3 separate regions of the Homo sapiens genome follow, and regions 2 and 3 are each linked to region 1. Evidence: promoter capture Hi-C in human tissues and cell types (Jung and others, 2019). All regions are on one chromosome and are shown on one strand. The core of a region is centred on a gene start or on the middle of the fragment in contact, and the rest is flanking DNA. Distances in the headings are between cores, read along the strand shown. Region 1 holds the start of ATG2A (autophagy related 2A). Region 2 holds the start of SIPA1 (signal-induced proliferation-associated 1). Region 3 holds the start of MALAT1 (metastasis associated lung adenocarcinoma transcript 1).

The links. Contacts are between HindIII fragments. The study calls those that stand out against the background at their distance.
Region 2: a contact is called between the fragment with the promoter of SIPA1 here and the fragment with the promoter of ATG2A in region 1, in 1 of the 25 tissues and cell types used here (spleen).
Region 3: a fragment that was not itself captured here is called in contact with the fragment with the promoter of ATG2A in region 1 in 1 of the 25 tissues and cell types used here (dorsolateral prefrontal cortex).

What each region holds. Positions count from the first base shown.
Region 1 is chr11:64,914,913-64,918,848 of GRCh38, forward strand. ATG2A (autophagy related 2A) reads right to left here and starts at 2,297. Exons shown (of 41, transcript NM_015104.3): 1 at 2,053-2,297. The coding sequence starts at 2,223. It also overlaps a transcript of PPP2R5B not described here. RefSeq lists a silencer at 2,209-2,518 and an enhancer at 2,569-2,698. The HindIII fragment of the contact is 28,686 bases long and covers 1-3,936 here.
Region 2 is chr11:65,636,851-65,640,786 of GRCh38, forward strand. It overlaps SIPA1 (signal-induced proliferation-associated 1), which reads left to right and starts at 1,251. Exons shown (of 16, transcript NM_006747.4): 1 at 1,251-1,332. It overlaps PCNX3 (pecanex 3), which reads left to right. Exons shown (of 35, transcript NM_032223.4): 35 at 1-589. The coding sequence ends at 128. RefSeq lists enhancers at 72-862, 1,814-1,883 and a silencer at 1,094-1,463. The HindIII fragment of the contact is 7,218 bases long and covers 1-3,936 here.
Region 3 is chr11:65,498,975-65,502,910 of GRCh38, forward strand. It overlaps MALAT1 (metastasis associated lung adenocarcinoma transcript 1), which reads left to right and starts at 71. Exons shown (of 1, transcript NR_002819.5): 1 at 71-3,936. It also overlaps TALAM1. RefSeq lists an enhancer at 1,465-1,594. The HindIII fragment of the contact is 4,315 bases long and covers 1-3,936 here.

The DNA.
Region 1 (3,936 bases), core at 1,047-3,546:
GCCGTGGGGAAGACGCCTAACCCAGCCTGGGCCGTCAGAGGAGGGGCAAGCTGAAGAATAAAGGGAGGGGGGATAGGCGCTGGTAGAAGGTGGTGTGTTGCAGGCACAGGACAACATGGGCACATGTATGGCAGAGTCCAGAATACCCATGTTCACCCTGGATGAGCAGAGTTCAAAGGGACAGTGTCCAAGAGAGGGGCTGACCTAATGCCAGATGGGACCCCCCCCCCCCACCACCAACCCCAAACACCTAGTGTAGCTGTGCCTCTCTGTGAGGCACAAGGCTGAGCCCCTGGCTAAAATGTCCATGCTGGAGTTGTACCCCTGCCAACCTGGAAGCTCCTGGAGGGCTGTACCCCACCTGCCTCCCCCGTCACCCCAGGTGCCACCCAGAAAGGGCCTCAGTAAACTGGTTGGATCCAAGAATAAAAAAGCACATGGCAGAGCAGATGGGAGTCCAAATTCCTCACCCAGAGACCCACAGCTCGGGAAACTGAGGCCTAGAGACAGGACTAATCTAGTCACCCAGTATACAACAGGGACTGAGACTGGGATGCGGGCCTCTTTCTTTTCATGCCACTTCAGAGGCCCCAGATACTCAGTTTCTTTGGGGGCCTTCAAGGCGGGGCCTGCAGGCTGAGCTGGGAGGGAGGAGGGGCTGGTTATCAAGAAAGCGCCTGCATTCCACCAGGGCCCTAGAGAAGCCAATTCAATCCCCAACAAGAGGGCAGGGAACAGGAGTAGGGGCGTTTTCTGGAGCTGAAAGTAAAAAGGGGAAGCCTAGGGCTGGGTATGGTGGTTCATGCCTATAATCTCAGCACTTTGGGAGGCTGAGGTGGGAGGATCCCTTCAGGGGTTCAAGGCTAGCCTGGGCAACATAGCGAAATCCTGTCTCTATAAAAATAAAAAAGGGGCAGCCTAGAGACGGCCTTAGAGGCTGAGGCTAAGGTTAGAGGTCAGAGAGGGCTTCCTACACCAGAATTCACAGACAGCAGGCCACTGGGGGGTGCCCCCAGTTCAGGGCCCACGATTATCCTACCCCACATTTGCTCACCAGGGCCTGGCCTACCCCCAAAGCCTAGCTCTTCTGCCCAGATTAGCAGCCCCCTGAGTCCAGCCACAAAACTGAGAAGTCCCTGCCTCCATGCCCACCCCTGCTGCTCTGGACCTGGTGGATCGACCAGGACGCGCCTCTAATTGGTGGCTCCTTCAAAGCTCCCCAGGTCAGCTGAGCTGTGAGTCAGGGCTCCTCACCGTTCCCAGCCTCAAGCCTCTGACCTTACACCTCTTGGCCTCCCTAGCATCTCCCTTGGCCTCCTCCCGGCTTGAAGCCAGATCTCCCCACCTTTCCTCCAGGGCCTCCCTCCAGGCAGGGACACTGAGCCGGGGGGGTCGGTGGGAGATGTAGGTGGGGGCCATCCAGTCCCTCCCTAGACACCCACTTGGCCCATCCCACTCTCCCAAAAGCAGGAAGTAGGCAGCGACCCAGGCACACGAGGTGTTGATCAACACTGGTACTGACGTACTGACGCGGTTGTTGACATACACATCCGGTGGTTTGTTGATCCCACCTACGGGCTCAGGACCGTGGGGTCAAGAGGTCAGGGCACATGATCCACAGGTGTCCTCGCCAGGGCTCCGGACCCCTACCAGCTTCCCCCACCAGCTGCGCAGGCCCAAGTCTGTCACTGCCCTGGCCCAGCTCAGTTCCTACGCTCCCTCCCCAGCCCCTCCTCAGCCCGAGAGCCAACCTCCTTAACTCAGCCCCCAAACTCGACGAGTTTGTCTTGCATTCTCCAGACAGGTGATCTTGCCCTCTCCAGCCTCAGTTTCTCCTCCCGTGGAGACAGAAACCCCTTCCCGCTCAGTTTCTGGCTCTGGTAAGGAACTGAAGAGGCCAGCCGGGGTGCCTCTGACGCCTGGAGAGGGCAAGATTCCCCTGGCCTCTCTACGCCCGGTGCCTGATCCCCCAGCCCGATCCTGCCGCAGGGAGCCTCAGGTCGCTGCGCTCCCACCCTCCGCACCTTCCTGGACTCGGGCCTGGCTCCTCACCCAGATTTCCAGGTGGATGTCTCGCAGGGCAACGCTGCCCTTGTACAGATCGAGGCTGAGCTGGTCCAGGCTGAGGTGCTCTTGGAAGAAGTGACCTAAGTAGTGGTGCAGCAAGTAGCGGCAGACCCGCTCTTTCACACAGTTTGACCATGGCCACAGCCATCGTGACATCTCGGAGACCGCCGGGCCTGGGCCGCCTCCGCTTGCCGCCCGCCGGCGATCCCCGTCCGGCTCCGCTGTTCACTAGAGCCCCCGGCTCGCCCCGCCGCTTCTCTAGGCGCCAGGCCGCGCCTCCGGACGCCCAGCCACGCCCCCTACGCTCACTGTCATTGGCTATTGCAAAGGGCGAGGCCTACTGATTGGCTGCGCGGGGCGGAGCCTTCGGGCGCGAAAAAGGGACTGGGCTCTCTGCATGATATAGGGCTCTCAATCATGATTTACGCTTGCGTAAAGTACTGTGTGGGAGGACCTTTAACCTCCCCTCTACAGGCTCTGGGAAGGCTGTTGCTCCAGGTGCCGGCCCCTCAAAGGAATGCGCATGTGCTGATTCGTCCAACCACTTTAAGTGGTTGGGGAGGATTTAAAGGGACAGTGTCCCATCAAACTTCGTAGAAGCCTTCCCCAGAGGAGTAAACTCAGTGCGCGATCTTAAGCGCGCATCTGTGGAAACAATTAAGTGAGTAAACATTCGCATTTTGCAAAATCTTTTACCATCCTTTATCTCATTGAGCCCTCTTAATAATCGCTCAAGGTAGGGATTATTGCCACCGCTTTACAGGTAAGAAAACAGATTAAGATACGAGAAAGACCCTGCCTCAAAAACAAACAAAAATAAATAAGGGCTCTGAATCCATCACCAAGGAAGGTCTTTTTTCCCCTCCTCACCCCGGAATGCTCAGAGGGAGATTAACTGACCCTCCCTTCTCTCTGCCGTCGGTCAGGCCTTAGGCACCTCTCTGAAATAATAATAGCTTTTCATATCTCTAGTCCTAAAATCAAAGAATGGATTCTGCCTCCTTTAAGCAGGGGGGCATTGTTTTTGTACGGCCTTTGAGCTAAGTATGGTTTTTATGTCTTTTAAATGGTTAGGGGAAAAATCAAAAGAAGAATGAACTTTTCATGGCATGTGAAAAATCATATGAAATTCACATTCCAGTGTTTATACATAACGTTTTAGTGTCACACAGTCTTGCTCATTTGCTTAAGTTCTGCCCCGGGCTGCTTTCTTGCTACAAGAGCAGAATTCAGTACTTGAGACAGAGGCCTGCAAAGCCTAAAATATTTATTTTCTGGCCCTTCACAGAAAAAGTTTGCCAACCGCTGCTCTGTAGGGGGCAGCCACACAAAACCTCTTACATCATGGGCGACTTCAGGAACAGCCATAGGTAATTATGTTTCTTTTCTTTTCTTTTTGAGACAGACTCTCTCTGTCACCTAGGCTGGAGTGCAGTGGCACAATCTTGGCTCACTGCAACCTCTGCCTCCTGGGTTCAAATGATTCTGCTGCCTTGGCCTCCCAGAGTAGCTGGGATTACAGGCATGCACCACCGCACCCAGCTAATTACCGTGTTGGGCAGGCTGGTCTCGAACTCCTGACCTTAGGTGATCAGCCTGCCTTGGCCTCCCAAAGTGTTGGGATTACAGGCACGAGCCACCGTGCCCGGCCTATGTTTCTATTTTATTTATTTTTTTTGAGACAGAGTCTTGCTCTGTTGCCCAGGCTGGAGTGCAGTGGTGCAGTCTCCTCTCACGCAACCTCTGGCTCCTGGGTTCAAGGAATTCCTGAGTAGCTGGGATTACAGGTGTGAGCTACCCCACCTAGCCTGTGTTTCTATTTTAATCTTACTTGGGAGCTGGACTCTTACATTCTAATGCCAAAACTCA
Region 2 (3,936 bases), core at 1-2,500, 720 kb after region 1:
ACATTCCTTGCTTGGACAGCAGTGCCCCTGAGAGTGGCACACCTATGGGTGCCCTGGGCGACTGGCCTGCCCCTATTGAGGAGCGTGAGAGCCCGGCAGCCCAGCCCCTGCTGGAACACCAGTACTGAGCTACCTGGCGCCCACTGGACCACCTCCTAGGATTCAGTAACGGACCTGCTCTGCTGCCTCTCTGCTGGACCACAGAACTGAGTGGCTTTGGCCTACATGTCTGAACCCTGACCTTTGGCTGCCTTGGCCAGAGTACCAAAACTGAGTGACCCAGACCTCTGACCTTGACCCCTGATCTCTCTCATCCCCAGTCCAGGGCCTGGGCTCCCCAGATGGAGGCAGTCAGCCTCCCAGCCAGGCCCTAAGAGCCAAACCATGGGCTGGTCCCACTTGGAGCCTGTGGCCAGGACCACCTCAGCCCCTGGGCCTGCACTGCCTGCAGGTGTGGCCCCCTTGGCCTGGACCTGGGGCCTGAATTGTGGGAAGGGTGGTTTCTTTCTTTCCTTTTTTTTCTTTTCTTTTTTTTTTTTTTTTTTGTGCTTCGGAGACATCAGAATTAATAACACTATTTTTGATTTTGGTTGGCAGTTTCTTTTTCTACCTGGGAATGGGTACATGATAGTACAGGCGGCTAAGTTGGGATGGACAAGCACGCAGAGGGGTGAAGGATGTGGGGCTGAAGTCTAGTAGAGATCAAGGGCAGACCAAGGTGGGGTTCAGGTAGAACCGGGTCCTCTTCACCGCATGGCTGCTCCCTTTTCAAGCCTTTATCTGAAGGGTATTGTCTGCCATTTCCCACCATATGGTCAGACTTCCAGGTCTGGTGGCTCCTACATTTATCAGGCTTGTTCTTGGCCAAAGCCTTTCTCTGCACCTCAGCTGCTCCAGGGCGTAAAGAGATGACACCTATCTAAGGTGTTTTTAGAATAAATGAGAGCGCGCTAGTGGAATGGTTGCCCAGGGCCCAGTGCTTAGCAAGTGCTCCATAAAATAGTGGCAGACTCTTGAGCACCTGCTGGCCGGGAGCTGGACGCTAGGTGGCCTCCGCTAGCCCTCCCGGTTGGTCTGGAAGGCAGGCACAAGTTTCTCAGGAGAGGAAATGGCCTTAGAATGAGCACTGCTCGGTGCTGACCTCCGCCAGGCCTGGAATCCCCGCTGCTGCGCTTCCCGCCGCAGACAGCTCCCGGCCGGCCCCGCCTCCCGGCATGGCCCCGCCTCCCAGCATGGCCCCGCCCCCAGGCGGAGCCGGCGCCGGGAGCGGTAGCGGGAGAGCGGCAGCGGGACCCCAGCGCGGGCGGCGGCGGCTGGGCGGGAGCCCCAGAGGTACTGGCGGGAGCAGGGGACGGGAGGCACTACTGTCGGGCCCGACAGGGGAGAGGTGGCCTAGCCGTGGGCCCGGGTGATGTGTATGGGAGTGGGGTCCTCGCCACGTTCGCCGCCAGCACCCTCCCAACTTCCCTCCGGGCTCCAGCTCAGTCCCGAGTCAATATGTCCAGCCCCCTGTCTCTGACCAGCCGTTCCTACTCTCTCTGTGTGACGGCTTAGCCTGGCCAGCCAGCCGGTGAGTGGAAGCGGCGGCTCCTGACTCCTGGTGGCGGCACTGTGACCCCCTCCCCCTCAACACTGCAAGTGTGTGCGGGGCTCCCCCTTATTCTGAGGCTCCTCTTCTTCTTAGGCGGCCTCCACCCCAGTCCCTGGCCTGGCCTGGGAGGAAACATCTGTCGCGCCCCCTGGCAGCCGAAATGGGGTCATGACCTCCAGATGTGCTGGGAAGTGGCCAGCTCCTCCTCCTGGGGCAGCCAGGCCTTCCGGATCTGTGGGGGCGGGGCCGGCCCTTTCCCCCCACCCCTAGTGACACAGGCCCGGAGGAATGTCCTAGCCTCAATGGACCCTGTGTGAAGCTTCAGGGTGGGGGGCAGAGCCCGAGAACACCCCTCAAGGCAGCGCCAGAGCCTGGCACTGGGCCACAGCAAGAGGCAGCGCACAGGCTGGGTGCACACATGCACAGATCTCACTTCCAAGCGTGCAGAGCTCAGCCCACAAGGAGCGGGGCTTGCACAGACCCCCTCCCTCATGCCCTCCTACTCCTTCACACACTATAGCCCAGGCCCGAGCGCTGAATGTGCCCAGAGCTTGGCTCATGGAGCCAGGGGCTACACCCGTCACACACACACATAGCTAGCGACACTCACCTCATTCTTCTCAGTCTCTCAGCAGCCTTGGGAGGGGACAGAAATAATTAAACCCAATTTTTTTCTTTGTTTTTTTGGAGACAGTCTCACTCTGTCCCGCAGGCTGGAGTTCAGTGGCGCGATCTCGGCTCACTGCAACCTCTGCCTCCCAGGTTTAAGCGATTCTCCTGCCTCAGCCTCCTGAGTGGCTGGGACTACAGGTGCGCACCACCACACCCGGCTAATTTTTATGTTTTTAGTAGAGACAGGGTTTCACCATGTTAGCTAGGCTGGTCTTGAACTCCTGACCTCAGGTGATCCCCCCGCCTTGGCCTCCCAAAGTGCTGGGATTACAGGCCACAGCCACCGCACCCGGCCAGTTAACCCCATTTTAGAGATGAGAAAACAGAGGCTCAAGGTCAGCATGGGAGTTTATTCAGGAGAAATCAAGGTAGAAGCACCTGGGCTGGGGAGCCGACTCTTGCTTGGTTCTGGAGGCCCCAGACGAAGGGTGTGTGGAGCCCCTCCTCCACCCCCCTCCGGCCCAGCCCCGCATGATGTTGCTGGATGCTGCATGAAGACCCACCATTAGATGCCTGTACCCCCAGTGGAGGTTCCCCAGCTCCCTGTCCTCACTGCCTACTCCATCCAGGGCTTGCCTGGGTGTGGCTTCCCTCAAGTTCTCACACCACCATTTGCACCTGCCTCTGGCGTCACGTTTCCGCACTTAGCAGGTCCCTGGGGCTTTGGGTGTCTCAATCTTGCATCCTGTGAGACCTTGAACCTCAGCCCAACACCCACCCCCCAAAACCTACGCACACAGACAGCAGTGGGCAGGTGCAGCCCTGCTTAGGGCCTGGAGATGGGCAGACCCAGGCTCACATCCTAGCTCTGACACGGAATTGCTTCAGGCAAGAGCATCTCCTCTGGACCTCATCTGACCATCTGTCACATGGGGTTCAGACCTCCCTGTCTGCATCAGTGAGACCAGGTAGGCAGAGGTCCCTATGGGTCCCTGTCATTGTGACTCCTCTTGCCCCCAAGCCTGGGCACAGTAGCCTGCAAGAAGGTGAGTTGGCCTGTCCTTCAGGGCAGGGTGACTGGGGTCCCATGACAGCTGCTGTGACCCCAGCACCTTCCTCAGGATGTGGGGGCCTGGCAGAGGGCTGGGCCCACAGTTGGGGCTACTTCCTGTGCTGAAGGAAGTCCTCTTGCCATTCCTGCTGCCCTGCCGCTGCCTCCCTGGGAACCCATGTGTCCTTGTGGTATTGAGGCCTTGAGGTCCAGGGCACTGAGATCAGACCTCTCTGGGTGATCAGCTCTCCAGGGACCCTGAAGGAAGTGGGAGGGGCAAGGAGGAAGGTCTCTGGGGACAGGACGTCCTCCCTTTGTTAAGTGGGCAGGACCCAGACACCAGTGGCCCCTGGGTTTCCCGTCCCAGCCAATACAAGTCATCTGTCCGGTTGGGCTAGGTCCTGGTGGGACCCTTACTCTGGGCCCAGGCCAAAGCTAAGGTGTGTGGGTGGCGACTGGGGGACCCTGGCAGTCCCAGGGCTGCCCAGGCTCCAGGACCCTCAGGACCAAGACCCAACAGCCCAGCCTCTAGCCTTGCCCAGCTAAGCTGGGGAGGGGGCTGGAAACTTTAGCCCTAGGCAGACAAGGAAGTGGCCTGGAAAGCGGAAGCAGCTTTGATGGTCTCGGAGGGGGCCGGAAGCCAACACGGGTGGTGGAGGACCAGGCTGGGGGCCTGGGTTCC
Region 3 (3,936 bases), core at 609-3,108, 580 kb after region 1:
GAAGGTGATCGAATTCCGGTGATGCGAGTTGTTCTCCGTCTATAAATACGCCTCGCCCGAGCTGTGCGGTAGGCATTGAGGCAGCCAGCGCAGGGGCTTCTGCTGAGGGGGCAGGCGGAGCTTGAGGAAACCGCAGATAAGTTTTTTTCTCTTTGAAAGATAGAGATTAATACAACTACTTAAAAAATATAGTCAATAGGTTACTAAGATATTGCTTAGCGTTAAGTTTTTAACGTAATTTTAATAGCTTAAGATTTTAAGAGAAAATATGAAGACTTAGAAGAGTAGCATGAGGAAGGAAAAGATAAAAGGTTTCTAAAACATGACGGAGGTTGAGATGAAGCTTCTTCATGGAGTAAAAAATGTATTTAAAAGAAAATTGAGAGAAAGGACTACAGAGCCCCGAATTAATACCAATAGAAGGGCAATGCTTTTAGATTAAAATGAAGGTGACTTAAACAGCTTAAAGTTTAGTTTAAAAGTTGTAGGTGATTAAAATAATTTGAAGGCGATCTTTTAAAAAGAGATTAAACCGAAGGTGATTAAAAGACCTTGAAATCCATGACGCAGGGAGAATTGCGTCATTTAAAGCCTAGTTAACGCATTTACTAAACGCAGACGAAAATGGAAAGATTAATTGGGAGTGGTAGGATGAAACAATTTGGAGAAGATAGAAGTTTGAAGTGGAAAACTGGAAGACAGAAGTACGGGAAGGCGAAGAAAAGAATAGAGAAGATAGGGAAATTAGAAGATAAAAACATACTTTTAGAAGAAAAAAGATAAATTTAAACCTGAAAAGTAGGAAGCAGAAGAAAAAAGACAAGCTAGGAAACAAAAAGCTAAGGGCAAAATGTACAAACTTAGAAGAAAATTGGAAGATAGAAACAAGATAGAAAATGAAAATATTGTCAAGAGTTTCAGATAGAAAATGAAAAACAAGCTAAGACAAGTATTGGAGAAGTATAGAAGATAGAAAAATATAAAGCCAAAAATTGGATAAAATAGCACTGAAAAAATGAGGAAATTATTGGTAACCAATTTATTTTAAAAGCCCATCAATTTAATTTCTGGTGGTGCAGAAGTTAGAAGGTAAAGCTTGAGAAGATGAGGGTGTTTACGTAGACCAGAACCAATTTAGAAGAATACTTGAAGCTAGAAGGGGAAGTTGGTTAAAAATCACATCAAAAAGCTACTAAAAGGACTGGTGTAATTTAAAAAAAACTAAGGCAGAAGGCTTTTGGAAGAGTTAGAAGAATTTGGAAGGCCTTAAATATAGTAGCTTAGTTTGAAAAATGTGAAGGACTTTCGTAACGGAAGTAATTCAAGATCAAGAGTAATTACCAACTTAATGTTTTTGCATTGGACTTTGAGTTAAGATTATTTTTTAAATCCTGAGGACTAGCATTAATTGACAGCTGACCCAGGTGCTACACAGAAGTGGATTCAGTGAATCTAGGAAGACAGCAGCAGACAGGATTCCAGGAACCAGTGTTTGATGAAGCTAGGACTGAGGAGCAAGCGAGCAAGCAGCAGTTCGTGGTGAAGATAGGAAAAGAGTCCAGGAGCCAGTGCGATTTGGTGAAGGAAGCTAGGAAGAAGGAAGGAGCGCTAACGATTTGGTGGTGAAGCTAGGAAAAAGGATTCCAGGAAGGAGCGAGTGCAATTTGGTGATGAAGGTAGCAGGCGGCTTGGCTTGGCAACCACACGGAGGAGGCGAGCAGGCGTTGTGCGTAGAGGATCCTAGACCAGCATGCCAGTGTGCCAAGGCCACAGGGAAAGCGAGTGGTTGGTAAAAATCCGTGAGGTCGGCAATATGTTGTTTTTCTGGAACTTACTTATGGTAACCTTTTATTTATTTTCTAATATAATGGGGGAGTTTCGTACTGAGGTGTAAAGGGATTTATATGGGGACGTAGGCCGATTTCCGGGTGTTGTAGGTTTCTCTTTTTCAGGCTTATACTCATGAATCTTGTCTGAAGCTTTTGAGGGCAGACTGCCAAGTCCTGGAGAAATAGTAGATGGCAAGTTTGTGGGTTTTTTTTTTTTACACGAATTTGAGGAAAACCAAATGAATTTGATAGCCAAATTGAGACAATTTCAGCAAATCTGTAAGCAGTTTGTATGTTTAGTTGGGGTAATGAAGTATTTCAGTTTTGTGAATAGATGACCTGTTTTTACTTCCTCACCCTGAATTCGTTTTGTAAATGTAGAGTTTGGATGTGTAACTGAGGCGGGGGGGAGTTTTCAGTATTTTTTTTTGTGGGGGTGGGGGCAAAATATGTTTTCAGTTCTTTTTCCCTTAGGTCTGTCTAGAATCCTAAAGGCAAATGACTCAAGGTGTAACAGAAAACAAGAAAATCCAATATCAGGATAATCAGACCACCACAGGTTTACAGTTTATAGAAACTAGAGCAGTTCTCACGTTGAGGTCTGTGGAAGAGATGTCCATTGGAGAAATGGCTGGTAGTTACTCTTTTTTCCCCCCACCCCCTTAATCAGACTTTAAAAGTGCTTAACCCCTTAAACTTGTTATTTTTTACTTGAAGCATTTTGGGATGGTCTTAACAGGGAAGAGAGAGGGTGGGGGAGAAAATGTTTTTTTCTAAGATTTTCCACAGATGCTATAGTACTATTGACAAACTGGGTTAGAGAAGGAGTGTACCGCTGTGCTGTTGGCACGAACACCTTCAGGGACTGGAGCTGCTTTTATCCTTGGAAGAGTATTCCCAGTTGAAGCTGAAAAGTACAGCACAGTGCAGCTTTGGTTCATATTCAGTCATCTCAGGAGAACTTCAGAAGAGCTTGAGTAGGCCAAATGTTGAAGTTAAGTTTTCCAATAATGTGACTTCTTAAAAGTTTTATTAAAGGGGAGGGGCAAATATTGGCAATTAGTTGGCAGTGGCCTGTTACGGTTGGGATTGGTGGGGTGGGTTTAGGTAATTGTTTAGTTTATGATTGCAGATAAACTCATGCCAGAGAACTTAAAGTCTTAGAATGGAAAAAGTAAAGAAATATCAACTTCCAAGTTGGCAAGTAACTCCCAATGATTTAGTTTTTTTCCCCCCAGTTTGAATTGGGAAGCTGGGGGAAGTTAAATATGAGCCACTGGGTGTACCAGTGCATTAATTTGGGCAAGGAAAGTGTCATAATTTGATACTGTATCTGTTTTCCTTCAAAGTATAGAGCTTTTGGGGAAGGAAAGTATTGAACTGGGGGTTGGTCTGGCCTACTGGGCTGACATTAACTACAATTATGGGAAATGCAAAAGTTGTTTGGATATGGTAGTGTGTGGTTCTCTTTTGGAATTTTTTTCAGGTGATTTAATAATAATTTAAAACTACTATAGAAACTGCAGAGCAAAGGAAGTGGCTTAATGATCCTGAAGGGATTTCTTCTGATGGTAGCTTTTGTATTATCAAGTAAGATTCTATTTTCAGTTGTGTGTAAGCAAGTTTTTTTTTAGTGTAGGAGAAATACTTTTCCATTGTTTAACTGCAAAACAAGATGTTAAGGTATGCTTCAAAAATTTTGTAAATTGTTTATTTTAAACTTATCTGTTTGTAAATTGTAACTGATTAAGAATTGTGATAGTTCAGCTTGAATGTCTCTTAGAGGGTGGGCTTTTGTTGATGAGGGAGGGGAAACTTTTTTTTTTTCTATAGACTTTTTTCAGATAACATCTTCTGAGTCATAACCAGCCTGGCAGTATGATGGCCTAGATGCAGAGAAAACAGCTCCTTGGTGAATTGATAAGTAAAGGCAGAAAAGATTATATGTCATACCTCCATTGGGGAATAAGCATAACCCTGAGATTCTTACTACTGATGAGAACATTATCTGCATATGCCAAAAAATTTTAAGCAAATGAAAGCTACCAATTTAAAGTTACGGAATCTACCATTTTAAAGTTAATTGCTTGTCAAGCTATAACCACAA